Linked DNA regions of Homo sapiens: regions 1 and 3 are each linked to region 2. The links are contacts of gene promoters, found by promoter capture Hi-C in human tissues and cell types (Jung and others, 2019). All regions are on one chromosome and are shown on one strand. Each heading gives the region's core, a stretch centred on a gene start or on the middle of the fragment in contact. The rest is flanking DNA. Distances are from core to core; before and after follow the strand shown. Region 1 overlaps CSNK1G1 (casein kinase 1 gamma 1). Region 2 holds the start of PPIB (peptidylprolyl isomerase B). Region 3 overlaps CSNK1G1 (casein kinase 1 gamma 1).

Region 1 (4,366 bases), core at 1,666-4,165, 84 kb after region 2:
AGAGTGTGGGCCGGGGGGAGACATCCCTTGTTCATAGATTGGAAGAATATTGTAAAAATATTAATAATACCAAAAGCAATCTATAGCTTCAACACAATCCATATCAAAATACCTAAGACATTCTTCACAGAAATAGAAAAAACAATCCTAAAATTCTTATGAAATCACAGAAGACTCTGAATAGCCAAAGCAATCCTGAGCAAAAAGAACAAAGCAAGGCCAGGCATAATGGCTCACACCTGTAATCCCAGCACTTTGGGAGGCTGAGGCAGGTGGATCACTGGAGTCCAGGAGTTTGATGCCTGCCTGTGTAACATGGCAAAACCCCACCTCTACAAAAAATTAGCAGGGCGTGGTGAGGGAGGCTGAGGCTGTAGTGAGCCGTGATCACATCACTGCACTACAGCCTGGGTAACAGAGTAAGACCCTGTATCAAGGCGGGGAAAAAAAAACAACACAGCTGGAGGCATCACCCACTAATCACGCACTACCTGATGTCAAAATATACTACAAAGCTACAGTAACCAAACAGCATGTTACTGGCATAAACAGACAAAGAGACCAAGGGAAGAGAGGAGAGAACCCAGAAATAAACCCACATATTTGGAACCAGCTAATTTTCAACAAAGGTGCCAAGAACATTCAGTAGGGAAAGGATGGTCTGTTTAGAGAAATGAAACTAGACCCCTATCTCTAACTATACAAAAAAAAACAAATCAAAATGGATTAAAGACTTAGATGTAAGACCTGAAACTATGAAACTACTAGAATAAAACATTGGGGAAATGCTTCATGACATTGGTCTGGGCAAAATCTTTCAGGTAAGACCTCAAAAACACAGGCAACAGAAGCAAAAATAAACAAATGGAATTTCAGCAAGCTAAGAAGCTCCTGCACAGCAAAGGAAACAACTGAGTGAAGAGACAACCAGTAGAATAAGAGAAAATATAATATATGCAAACCATGTATCTAATAAGGGATTAATTAATAGCCAGGATATATATGCAATTCAAACAACTCAATAGCAAAAAATAGTAAAAATAATAATCTGATTTAAAAATGGGCAAATGATCTTCACAGCCATTATCAAAATCAGTTTATCAAAAACATGTGTGTACGTCCATGTTTATTACAGCTCTATTCATAATAGCAAAGATATGCAATTAACCTAAGTGTCCATTAACAGATAAAGGACAAAAAAATGTGGTACATATACACACAAGGAAATACTATTCACCCATAAAAAAGAATGAAATTCACACCTGTAAGCCCAGCTCTCAGAGAGGCGAGGTGGGAGGATAGTTTGAGCCCAGGAGTTTGAGACCTGACTGGGCAGTATAGCGAGACCCCGGTTCTCCACAAAAAGGAAAAAAAAAAAAGACACACACACAAAAAAAGAATGAAATTCTGTCATTTGCAGCAACACAGATGGAACTGGAGGCCTTTATAATAACTGAAATAAGGTAGGCAGGGAAAGACAAATATCACATGTTCTCGCTCATGTGAAAACTTAAAAAGTTGATCTCATATAGAATGATGGTTACCAGAGGCTGGGAATGGTTGGGTGTGGGGAGGATGAAGAGAGCTTGGTTAATGGGTACAAACATACAGTTAGAAGCAATAAATTCTAGTGTTGATAGCACAGCAGAGTGACTATAGTTAACAATAATTTATTGTATATTTCAAAATAGCCAGAAGAGTAGATTTGAAATGTTCCCAACACAAAGAAATGGTAAATGTTTGAGGTAATGAGTAGCTTAACCACCCTGACTTGATAATTACACATAGATATGCATGTATCAAAATATCACATATATCCCATAAATAGGTATATTATGTATCAATTTTAAAAATGAACCGCCTACTAGGTATTTAACAAGTTAACTGGCTTTCTCTGCCCAATGAGATTTTGTTTTGACTACTGCATTTGTGAAGTTTCAACTGGGGTCTTGTTAAGGCTGGACACAGTGGTTCATGCCTGTGATCCCAGCACTTTGGGCAGCCAAGGTGAGAGGATCACCTGGGGCCAAGAGTTCAAGACCAGCCTGGTCAACATAGTGAGACTCCATCCCTACAAAAAACTAAAAATATTAGCCAGCTATGGTGCATTGCGCCTGTAGTCCCAGCTACTTGGGAGGCTGAGGCGGGAGGATGACTAGAGCCAAAGAATTTGAGGCTGCAGCAAGCTACGATTGCACCACTACACTCTAGCCTCAGAATCAGAGCAAGAGTCCGTCTCTTTAAAAAAAAAAAAAAGGGGGGGGGGGAGGAATCTTGTCATTTTTTAATTTGAGGATTAGCTTCTCCTTTATAAGAGAGCCAAATCAGAAGAGTCACTAGATTACAATAGCTGCTGGGAAGCCAGGATATGGGAGCCTAGACTTAGAAATTTCAGGTTATGTCAGAGACCTCCATTTTCCTGTCATTTACTGCAAAGAATCCTATTATCCTGCCGTTTACCTACCCTCTAAACCCTCAATCCTCTTTCATTTGCTCTGGTCCTTGCTGACTCATCCCCTCCCTCCCTTTTTCCTCCCACTTCAGCTGCATGCTTGGTTCTGGCTTATTCATCTTCTAGTCAATTAACGAACATATACCACGCTGTTGTCATGTGGTCAGCTATGGAGTCATTCTCATACTGTCACTCTTCCTAATACGGATCTGTTTCGGCCACAGACTCTTTCATATCTCTGCCCCAAACCTCTCATCCACCAAATCTTGTTCCTGTGTGCTAGAATACAAGCAAAACTGAGAGCTATGCTGGAAAAAAGATTTATGGATTGGAAAATTTTTAAATTGATAATGTATGTATCTTCCTAAGTAAAAGACCCTAAGGAAATACTGAAACCTAAAATCATTCCCATAAAAAGAAAAGAAATTAAAACTTGCCTATGGTGACCATAATACAATTAACATAACATTGATGATTGAAGAAAATAAGAAAAATAGTTATAAGATTTTACAATTTGGTTTCTATAAGAAATGAAAAAATGATAGCTAACAGGAAAATAAAATGCTTATTCTCAGTTTCAAGGTTCTCATGGTCCCCTTTACTTTCTTCCCTGATTATCTTGGAGATATCAATTCTTAAGCATTAAGTCTTGAAAATCTTGGTGGTAAAACTGTAATCAAGAAACAAAGCTTGAAAAGTGTGACCACTCACTAGAAAACAAAGTGGAATGGAAGAGAAAGAGTTAGAGATCACACAAGGAAAAGCAGAGACAATGTGGAAGACCTCCAACCAGAACCACATTCACAATTACCCAGTGCTGTCATTTTTGTTCTATCTCTACATAATTAGAGAATTGGTATGAATTTCTAGATCAGGTCATCAATGTGAAACTGGGGTCCAAAAGGCCAAGGTAATGATTAAGAGTTGGGTACTGAAGAAAATGGTCATAGTCCCAGGACAACAAAAAGTTCCTATTTTAGGAATTTAATGTCTCAAGCTCTGGATATCACAGCAATAGGTATTCTTTAAATTCATAATCAATCATTTTTCCCAAATAATTTCATACATTTATAAGCAATGATTAATTCACTGAACAAACCTAAGTCACAATGGGCTTTTTGTTTAAGTATTCATTGTCAGGAAATCCAAATATTTTATAATTCACTGGACAGTAATGAACAATGACAGACAAAACACTAGTGAGTAAAAACACTAATTATGTTACTGTGGTCTTTGTGTGGCTTTGGCACAAAAGGTTGTTTATTTACAATGCTGCAACATCACCTTGGTAATCAAAAGAGTGGCATATGCGCACTGGCTGCTCAAACATTAACTACCAATGAGTCATACTTGCAGCTGAGAACTTACTCTGAAAAAATAGGGGGAGGAATGCTGTGCCTCTAAGTTAAAAACAAGCTCTGGTGTTCATGCTCACATTTACAAGGACACATGGTGAAATCTTGTCTATTTTCTTGTCAATTGATCTTCTTTCAAAATAAATTTCCTTTTTTTAACCATCACAAGGAATATTTTTATTAATAACATTGGTAAAAATCTAAAAAGGCAAGCTTATTAAATCTTTCTAACTTCTTTCTGCCACTGAACTACTTGCTGACTGCTATGTGACAGAATGACATCACACCAGGCCTTAAGATACGCTTGAGATACAAGGGTAAAGAAGACACAAGGCTTGTTTTCAAGGAGCTTATAATCTTATGGCAGGGAGTGGGGAGAGTGGGACCAATATGCAATTACAATAAAAAAATAGTCAATGCCTAATCATCAATAGGATAATATAATCAGGATTTTAAAAATATCCCAATGTTCTTCCTCATCTGGACTCTGGAAAAAATAAAATAAAAAATATGGCCAGGCACGGCGGCTCACATCTGTAATCCCAGCACTTAGAGAGGG
Region 2 (4,727 bases), core at 688-3,187:
CAAGTAGCTGGAATTACAGGCGCCTACCACTACACCTGGCTAATTTTTTGTATTTTTAGTAGAGACAGGATTTCGCCATGTTGGCCAGGCTGGTCTCGAACTCCTGACCTCAGGTGATCTACCCGCCTCAGCCTCCCAAAGTGCTGGGACTACAGGCATGAGTTACTGCGCCCGGCCTTTTATTTTTAATTAATTTATTTTTTTTTTGAGACAGGGTCTCACTCTATTGCTCAGGCTGGAGTGCAGTGGCATGAACATGGCTCACTGCAACCTCCATTTCACTTCAGCCTCCTGAGTAGCTGTAGCTGGGACCACAGGTGCACCCCGTCACACCCAGCTAATTAAAAAAAATTTTTTTTGGCCGGGCATAGTGGCTCACACCTCTAATCCCAGCACTTTGGGAGGCCAAGGCAGGCGGATCACCAGAGGTCAGGAGTTCGAGTTCAGCCTGGCCAACATGGTGAAACCCTGTCACTACTAAAAATACAAAATTAGCCAAGCGTGGTGGCGCATGCCTGTAATCCCAGCTACTCAGGAGGCTGAGGCAGGAGAATCACTTAAACCCGGGAGGCGGAGGTTGCAGTGAGCTGAGGCCGCACCACTGCACTCCAGCCCAGGCGACAAGAGTGAAACTCCGTCTCAAAAAAAAAAAAAAATTTGCGGGGGTAGAGACAGGGTCTTGCTATGTTGCTCAGGTTGGCCTTGAACTCCTGGGCTCAAGCAATCCTCCTACTTTGGCCTCCAAAAGTGCTGGGATTTTAAGTGTGAGCCACTGTGCCTGGTCAGGGCCCCATTACTCTTAAGAAAGGGCAATACTGTGTTCCCAGGGCAACAGGCAGTCGGTGCTCAGTGAGGTCCACGCTACAGATCGGCTGAACTCTGCAGGTCAGTTTGCTGCCATCCCCAGTGCCAATTTCACTTCATGTGAGTTGACTACCCCTGCTCCAGCCACTTACCTCTCCTGTAGCTAAGGCCACAAAATTATCCACTGTTTTTGGAACAGTCTTTCCGAAGAGACCAAAGATCACCCGGCCTACATCTTCATCTCCAATTCGTAGGTCAAAATACACCTGAGGAAAGAGACCATTTCCAACTTAGCTTCTTTAAAGGGGCGTTGCTAGGGGAGGGAAGGTACAAGAAGCTAACCTGAGGATGGGAGAGAGAATAGAGCCATATTTTTAGAGAAGTGGTTCTGAATCTGATTTTGGTGACGGTAAAAATCCTATGAGAATCTAATGAAAGCTCCAGACCCTTTTCTTGGAAAACATGCTTATCTATACCCTCCTTGGACTACAGGATAACAATATTTGCTCTAAACAGCTAATGGACCCAGATTCTAAAAATTAACATTAGAAAACCCATAAGGAGCGGAGCCTAAGTTCACCACTTAAGTTTGAAGTATACATACTGTGCTTTGTAATTGGAAGTGGCTAAAATTTGGCTTAAGGAGAGAAAGGATTCGGAATCCGGCAGGCGTGATCTTTCACCATCTCCCCAGCACTGAGGGGTGTTTGCAAAAAGCCTGCTCTGAGACTGCCAGTGTCGGCCCCAGATGGGTATCCGGGGATCCAACTAACTCCCTGGGTCAGGGCAGGGGCTGGGGGTGTCGGGGTGGGTCCGGGTCGTTCCCTGGACTGAATGGGCAGGACGGCCCAGACGCCACGAGGCCACAGACAGAAGCCGAGGGAGGAGGGGCTGAGCCAAGGCCAAGCCAAGGCCGCCCGGGCCCGAGCTCCGGCACCGTAAATGCCGCGGACTCCACCGGACCTTGACGGTGACTTTGGGCCCCTTCTTCTTCTCATCGGCCGCAGAAGGTCCCGGCAGCAGCAGGAAGAAGACGGACCCCGCGATGAGGGCGGCGGCAAGGAGCACCTTCATGTTGCGTTCGGAGAGGCGCAGCATCCACAGGCGGAGGCGAAAGCAGCCCGGACAGCTGAGGCCGGAAGAGGGTGGGGCCGCGGTGGCTAGGGAGCCGGCGCCGCCACGCGCGGGTGGGGGGGACTGGGGTTGCTCGCGGGCTCCGGGCGGGCGGCGGGCGCCGTTTCCCCCCTCCGGCTCGGCGCCGGATAGTAGGTCCCCCTGCGGGGCGGGCACCGACGCGGGCTCGTGGGTGGTTGCCACGTTATTGCTCCCTCATTGGGCTCCCGGCCGCCCTCTCCCGCCCACAGGAAGGCCACCGGCGGAAGGCGGCCTCGCAGAGCACGGGCCCGGGCTCCGAGAAGACCACAAGCCCCGGCATGCTCCGCGGCCCGCCCCGCCCGGAGCGCTGTTCCACTGGCCTGCGGTAGCTGGCGCTTGAGGTTAGCAAATACGTGGGCCTGGACAAGGGGCACGGGAAGCTTGTCACTGTTTTGGGCCAGTCAAGTGTTTGTCACCGCCAAATTGGCTCTAAACGTTGTGGCTTCCAAACACTTCAGGGACATTTATCCTTACCGAGCGTGGCCTTGTACGGCTCCTCCACTTGTCTTGCAAAACTTGCTGCACAACCCACTTCCTTTTTTACTGAGGCCGTCAAGTTACTACCCATTTTTCTCTCCCTTCTGTAATCTTGCTGTGCTTACTGTTGTGTATATCAATGGACATCTTATTGTATACGCTGTTCTTAACTTCCTTTACCTTTTCCCCCAATAGACTACATTTTTTTTTTTTTCTGCGGAAGGGACTGTGTTGCATTTACTCTGTCCACAGCTCCCTCACAGCGCGGCAGTACTGAGTGCCCAACAAGTCCTGGTTGGGATAGCTTCACATCCGCACTGACATGAGAAATAATTTATGCCACGGCCTGAGGATACAATGCCTTTTTCCGGAGGTCAGGAATAGTTACTAGATGTCCCCACAGGGCTATTTTAGGTCTTCACACACTTAGTGTTGTCCCAATCTACAACATAGATACTTTGGTACTGGGAGTCTTACACACCAAAACAAACCAAAACACAAACTTCCAAAATTTGGACCTATGGCGTTAAAACGTCTTTAAAACTAATTTTCAACGATTAACTTCGTAGAAATTCCAGGTCGTCACAGCACAGATTATAGGCAGGGCTCCATTTACATAAATTATGCAATGTAGTCTTCATGAGGCGCTGACCTGAGACTGAAGTTATGCAAGGCCACTGGCATTAACTTTGTTGTTCATTACAGCGGCCTTACACAGGTTGTAGAGCTTCAAGACAGTTCTCTTATTTCCCATCCTTGCACCTCAATTCAGACAACCCCAATCAGGAGGAAGTTTTAAACATTGTTATACTGACAAAGATGATCTTCCAGATCCATCTCTCATCCCTTTTTTTTTTTTTTCTCCTATTTTGTTAAGCCTCTTTCTTCACTCACTGGTCTCAGGCTGCCATAGCCAGAGAAAAATGTTTACTAAATCATGTTTTCAAAGTAGCCTCCAGCTGGGCACAGTAGCTCATACCTGTAATCCCAGCACTTTGAGAGGCTGTGGCAGGCAGATGACTTGAGTCCAGGAGTTTGAGCCTGGGCAACATGGTGAAACCTGTCTCTACAAAAAATACAAAAATTAGCAGGGCGTGGTGGTGCGCATCTGTAGTCGCAGCTACCCCAGAGGCTGAGGTGGGGGAATCACCTGAGCCCAGAAGGTCAAGGCTGCAGTGTACTGTGATCGTGAAACTGCACTCCACCCTGTCTCAAAAACAAAGAAACACTCAAAAAACCCAAGTAGCCTCCTGCACATGAGGAGCTAAGGCTAAAATGGCATCACAGCAGCCTTTCTCCCACTCCCACTTTCAAAAGAAATCAGGTTGATGGATAAAATGCTCTCAATGTGAAACTTTTCTCTCATGATTCTTCCACTGCTACCTGCCTGTGAAAAAGTAATTAAAGAGTAGTAACAAACTGGAAGGAGTCAATCATGCCCAGATTGACAGTTGTTCTGTTGGCTACATATGCAGTATGGTTTTACATTGCTCATCATAGTTCTATCTTCTGTCTGGACACATATTCCGCATTTGTAGAGGAGAATTATAAAGCTACTAAAGTTGTTCCACAGAGCAGATCCTGATTTCCTGTGTTCTACCACCTGAGAACAACAGGGACCCAGGAACTAACGTATGAGTGATAATGTCCAAATTCTTCCAGGAATATTTATTTATTTGAGACGGAGTCTTGCTCTGACGTCCATGCTGGAGTACAGTGGTGCGATCTTGGCTCATTGCAAACTCCACCTCCTGGATTCAAGCAATTGGCCTGCCTCAGCCTCCTGAGTAGCTGGGATTACAGGTGTGCACCACCACGCCCAACTAATTTTGTATTTTTAGTAGTGACAGGGTTTCACCATGTTGGCCAGGCTGGCCTCGAACTCCTGACCTCAAATGATCCACCCGCCTTGGCCTCCCGGAGTTGCTGGGATTACAGGTGAGAGCCACTGCGCCTGGCCAATATTTATTTTTTTAATTAAAAAATAATTTTCTTCTTCAGCACTCGAAGAGAGACAGCAGTATTTATTTTTGAAGTGACTCACAGGAGAAGACAATATTTAATCCAAGGAATGAAACAAGAATGCCAAATTATTTTTGTTCACAGGAGTCTTGAATCGCATCAAAGTTAGTCCTAGCTAGATTGTTAATTACAAATGAGCCGAGGGAGATTAAAAACAGACAAACCAATCAACCAACCAAACAAGCAGAAGTAGCCAAGAAAGGTAAGACATTTTATTTTACATACAAAAAGGGTGCAAACTGAGTCCTTTCCTCCCCAAACTGGGGAAG
Region 3 (4,509 bases), core at 1,528-4,027, 110 kb after region 2:
GCATGTACAATTATTATGTGTCAGTTATAAACAAAATAAAAAATATTAATCTGGCCCCAATGTATAAAACAGAAGTGAATGAGGTAATTAGAAAGAAGATGAATAAAATGTTTTTATAACAGAACATATAAAGAATAACTATTTCACAGAGCTTTATGAAGATGATAGAATATGTGTAAATATTTTGTAAACTGCAAGGTGCTAGATAAGTCTAATTTTTATTACTTCTATTATTATAGCAGAGAAGAGGTAATAATTCCTAAGAGGACTAGAATAGGATCTTCATGCAAGGTATTTTGAAGGAAAACCTAACAACGTTTGGATTACATGTAATGTGAGGGATAAGGAAAACGGAAGGGTCTAAATGAGGGGTGTCCAACCTTTTGGCTTCTCTGGGCCACACTGGAAGAATTGTCTTGGGCCACACATAAAATACATGAACACTAACAAAAGCTGATGAGCTAAAAAAAAAAAAAAAAAAAATCACATAATGTTTTAAGAGAGTTTGCAATTTTGTGTTGGGCTGCATTCAAGGCTGTCCTGGGCCACACGTGGCCCACAGGCCACAGGTTGAACAAGCTTGGTCTAAATGATGCTCTTAATTAGCGGAGAACAGACTTAGTTAGGAGAGTAAACAATATCATTCCACGCTACTATGATGCATTCCTGCAAATTCTCACTAAACCTAAAAGTGATAGACAAATTATAAAATGCTTCTTAGCTTCTATTTTCACATGTATATAAAAGAGTATAATCACAGAAGTATAATAAGTGAGACAAGCCTATGTAACACCCAACATAGTGGCTGATACATCACAAAATGCTAGCTTGCGTTTACTTAATTTCTCTAAGGGCACCAAAAGAATCAAATACATGTTACCCTTTTTCTTAAGAGGCACTGGAGGTGACTTGATAAGTCTCCTGAGCTAAGCATTGCCTCAAATGAATTTCTTTGCAAGGGCACAAATGCATCATTAAAATTTTACAGGTCAACACAAAATGCAGCCATGTTTCAGAAATTTAGACAATCACTCAGCCACTATCCTAAATAATACACAGTACTCAAAAATTTTGCTCCAGATGAATTTAATTACAAAGATTATGTTAAAACCCTGCCCATTTAAAATAAATAACTGCTTCAGCTAAAAAAATAAAAATAAAAGCATACCAATAACTATGAGGAAGGAAAGCCATTTAATGGACAGAAAAGTACCATTGATGAGCTGGCACAATCCCAAGCACTGAAAGCTTTTAGTATCTGTTGCACAAAATCCACAACGCTTCCCAAGCTCACTTCCTGGCTATTGGTTCCTTTATTCTTAATAGAAAAGGAACTGCATTACACAGTAGTTTTTGGAGCTTTATATTTAAACTCAGCCCTTTCAAAGCAGCAGTCCTGGATGTGATGCTGTCCATAAAACCCTCTGCATGAAGACTTCCTGTTTCTGTAAGTCACCTACAGAGACAACATTCACCGTAAGCTTCATCAGACACTGCATTATTTCAAAGAACTAGGAGTTCTCAGTTCTCAGAGCCATACTGATAAAGGAACATACAGTCTGTTTAGTTAGAGCTCCAGCTGTCACATTTTCTTGCCCTTCAGTGAAAATAGTACATGTATAAATTACTACCTAGAACTTGTAAAAAATCCAGCCAAATGAACTTGAGGCAATTAGTAGTTAAAACAAGTAACTACTTTTATATAACTCAGATGATTACCATGTCTATTTAGGGCAAAGAGGACAGGTTGGCCTATTGCCACCTCCACCCAAAAAGCATCTCTTCTTTTTGTGGAGACACAGTCTTGCTATGTTGCCCAGGCTGGAGTGCAGTGGCATGATCTTGGCTCACTGAAACTCTGCCTCCCAGGTTCAAGCAATTCTCCTGCCTCTGCCTCCCGAGTAACTGGGATTACAGGTGCATGCCACCACACCCAACCAACTTTTGTATTTTAGTAGAGATGGGTTTCACCTTGTTGCCAGGCTGGTCTCAAACTCCTGACCTCAGGTGAGCCTCCCGTCTGGGCCTCCCAAAGTGCTGGGAGGCATGAGCCATCTTGCCCGGCCCAAAGAGCATCTCTTTAAGTGAGCAGTATGATTAGGGGTAAGAAGATAACGATAGCAATACAACTCTAAAGAAAAAAAGCAGATAATGTTTTCACTTTTACTAACTTAATAGTATTAAAATATTAGTATACTATGCAGAAACATTTCCCAAATGATTAGTAGTTAAGGCAAGAATAATTTTTTCTTGTGTCAAGTTTTTTAAAGGGCTTACCTATCAACAACAATAAGTACATTATAATAAAAGAAAAACTTATTAAAGCTTAATATCACTGGGATGGTATATACAGCATGTTTATTATTAACAAGACAGACAATGCTCAAATGTTTTCTAAAGTGTAGAACATGATCCATTAGTGGGATATAAAGTAAATACATTCAAATATTGATTTTAAAGAATGTCTTGACCAAATTTTTTAAAGAAAAAATATATAAAATAAAAAGTATCAGAGTACATTATACTCAGTAAGGATAAAATATTATTTCATGAAACTTCATATACACAGATATTAACTATGTGTATATTAAATCACAATTTTTTTAGTGTGAGTTATGATCAAAGAATAATAAGAGCCATCAATAAAAATCTTCTAAAAAGCAGTTTCAATTATTTCATTTTGCAATGAAAAGCTGGTCAGTGGCTGGACTAGTTTCTATATAACTTTCCTAAGGTATTACACATGATATTCTGATTAATCTGTTAGTAAGAAAAATGAGAGTGCTTCTAACATCTGAAAGTCTAAAGTGAGGCTACGTGGAGTGAGGTAAAAGGCAGCCAGGGCCAAAAGAAAGGGAGAAGTTGAAAGTCATTTATAAATAGCATCAAAGCAGGACTCATACTCCATTTTTCAGAAAGTGTCTATGTACTTTCAAGGGCCTATGCTTTACAAAGAAAATTTGTAAAATGTTCTATATTATAGTGGTGGGCAGAAAAACTGGAGTGAATCATTCTAGAAAGTATGATTTTCTGCAGCAGAGAAATACCAAAGTATTTTTGTATTTTTAAAATTTTTATGCATAACTTCAAAGGCATATGATTTTCCCCCATGTAACCTACCCAATTTCAGTAACTTTATTATTTTGAAACAAATCTCAGATGTTACATCATTTTATCAGTAAATATTTCATTATGGGTCTGAAACAGAATTGAAGTACTTTTTCAGAACAGACGGATCATTTATTATTTGAAGACCTCTAGAATATGAATGTGGAAAATTAAAAGGTCAAATGGGAACCCATGAAAATGAAAAAGAGTGACGTACCAATGAGATATTTCAGCCACCCAGGTAGGAAAAAAAAGGTACAACAGTCCTTTGAAAAATAAAAGAGTTGAGGCTGGGCACGGTGGCTCACGCCTGTAATCCCAGCACTTTGGGAGGCCGAGGCAGGTGGATCACGAGGTCAGGAGATCGAGACCATCCTGGCTAACACAGTGAAACCCTGTCTCTAATAAAAAATACAAAAAAATTAGCTGGTGGTAGTGGCGGGCACCTGTAGTCCCAGCTACTTGAGAGGCTGAGGCAGGAGAATGGTGTGAACCCGGGAGGCAGAGCTTGCAGTGAGCCAAGATCGCACCAGTGCACTCCAGCCTGGGTGACAGAGCGAGACTCCATCTCAAAAAAAAAAAAAAAAGAAAAAGAAAATAGTTGAAAGTGAAAAAACAATCATGAACAGAGTTCAAGGTAAAGCAATCAATTCCGGAAGAACTAGAACCATGCAACGTCAGTGACTTGAACTTGATCATTAGACAAAATAGTCAAATATATTTTCCTGCCAATAAGAATATAGACCTCTATTCTAGACAGTGATGCAAGTTTTGAGAGGAAATATAGATGTTATTAATAAAGTTGGAGGCTGGGTGCTGTGGCACAAACCTGTAATCCAAAAACTTTGGGAGGTCAAGGTGAGAGAATCACTTGAGGCCAGGGGTTTGAGATCAGCCTAGGCAACAAAGTGAGACTCTGCCTCCACAAAAAAATTAAATAATTAGCCAGGCATTGTGGTGCACCCTTCAGCCCTAGCTACTTGGGAGGCTGAGATGGGAGGATCCTTTGAGTCCAGGAGTTCAAGGTTACAGTGACCTGTGATTGCACCACTGCACTCCAGCCTGGGCAACAGAGTGAGACCCTGTCATTCATTCATTCATATGTACATACATAAAATAATACATATACACACACTTTTACCCCTGCTACAAGTTTTCATATTGTTATTAATATTAAAATAATAAAATTTAATATAATAAATATATTAATATTAATATATTTAATAATATATTAATATTGGTATATTTAATATATTAATATTAATATATTTAATAATATAGCAATATTGATATATTTAATAATATAGCAATATTGATATATTTAATAATATATTAATATTGATATATTTAATAATATATTAATATTGATATATTTAATAATATAGCAATATTGATATATTT

Evidence for each region. Contacts are between HindIII fragments. The study calls those that stand out against the background at their distance.
Region 1: a fragment that was not itself captured here is called in contact with the fragment with the promoter of PPIB in region 2 in 4 of the 25 tissues and cell types used here (IMR-90 fibroblasts, bladder, lymphoblastoid cells and 1 more).
Region 3: a fragment that was not itself captured here is called in contact with the fragment with the promoter of PPIB in region 2 in 5 of the 25 tissues and cell types used here (IMR-90 fibroblasts, bladder, hippocampus and 2 more).

Annotation. Positions count from the first base shown.
Region 1 is chr15:64,244,384-64,248,749 of GRCh38, forward strand. The region is part of intron 4 of CSNK1G1 (casein kinase 1 gamma 1); the gene reads right to left. Among named protein-coding and RNA genes, the nearest start is that of PPIB, 84 kb to the left of the region's middle. RefSeq lists enhancers at 1,596-2,096, 2,097-2,597, 2,718-2,777, 3,667-3,961. The HindIII fragment of the contact is 4,593 bases long and covers 620-4,366 here.
Region 2 is chr15:64,161,085-64,165,811 of GRCh38, forward strand. It overlaps PPIB (peptidylprolyl isomerase B), which reads right to left and starts at 1,938. Exons shown (of 5, transcript NM_000942.5): 1 at 1,768-1,938; 2 at 957-1,070. The coding sequence starts at 1,902. It overlaps CSNK1G1 (casein kinase 1 gamma 1), which reads right to left. Exons shown (of 12, transcript NM_022048.5): 12 at 4,441-4,727. RefSeq lists enhancers at 497-1,061, 1,295-1,795, 1,603-1,852, 1,796-2,296, 2,403-2,452 and a silencer at 1,903-2,262. The HindIII fragment of the contact is 5,042 bases long and covers 839-4,727 here.
Region 3 is chr15:64,273,268-64,277,776 of GRCh38, forward strand. All of the region lies in intron 2 of CSNK1G1 (casein kinase 1 gamma 1), which reads right to left. Among named protein-coding and RNA genes, the nearest start is that of CSNK1G1, 81 kb to the right of the region's middle. The HindIII fragment of the contact is 3,728 bases long and covers 914-4,509 here.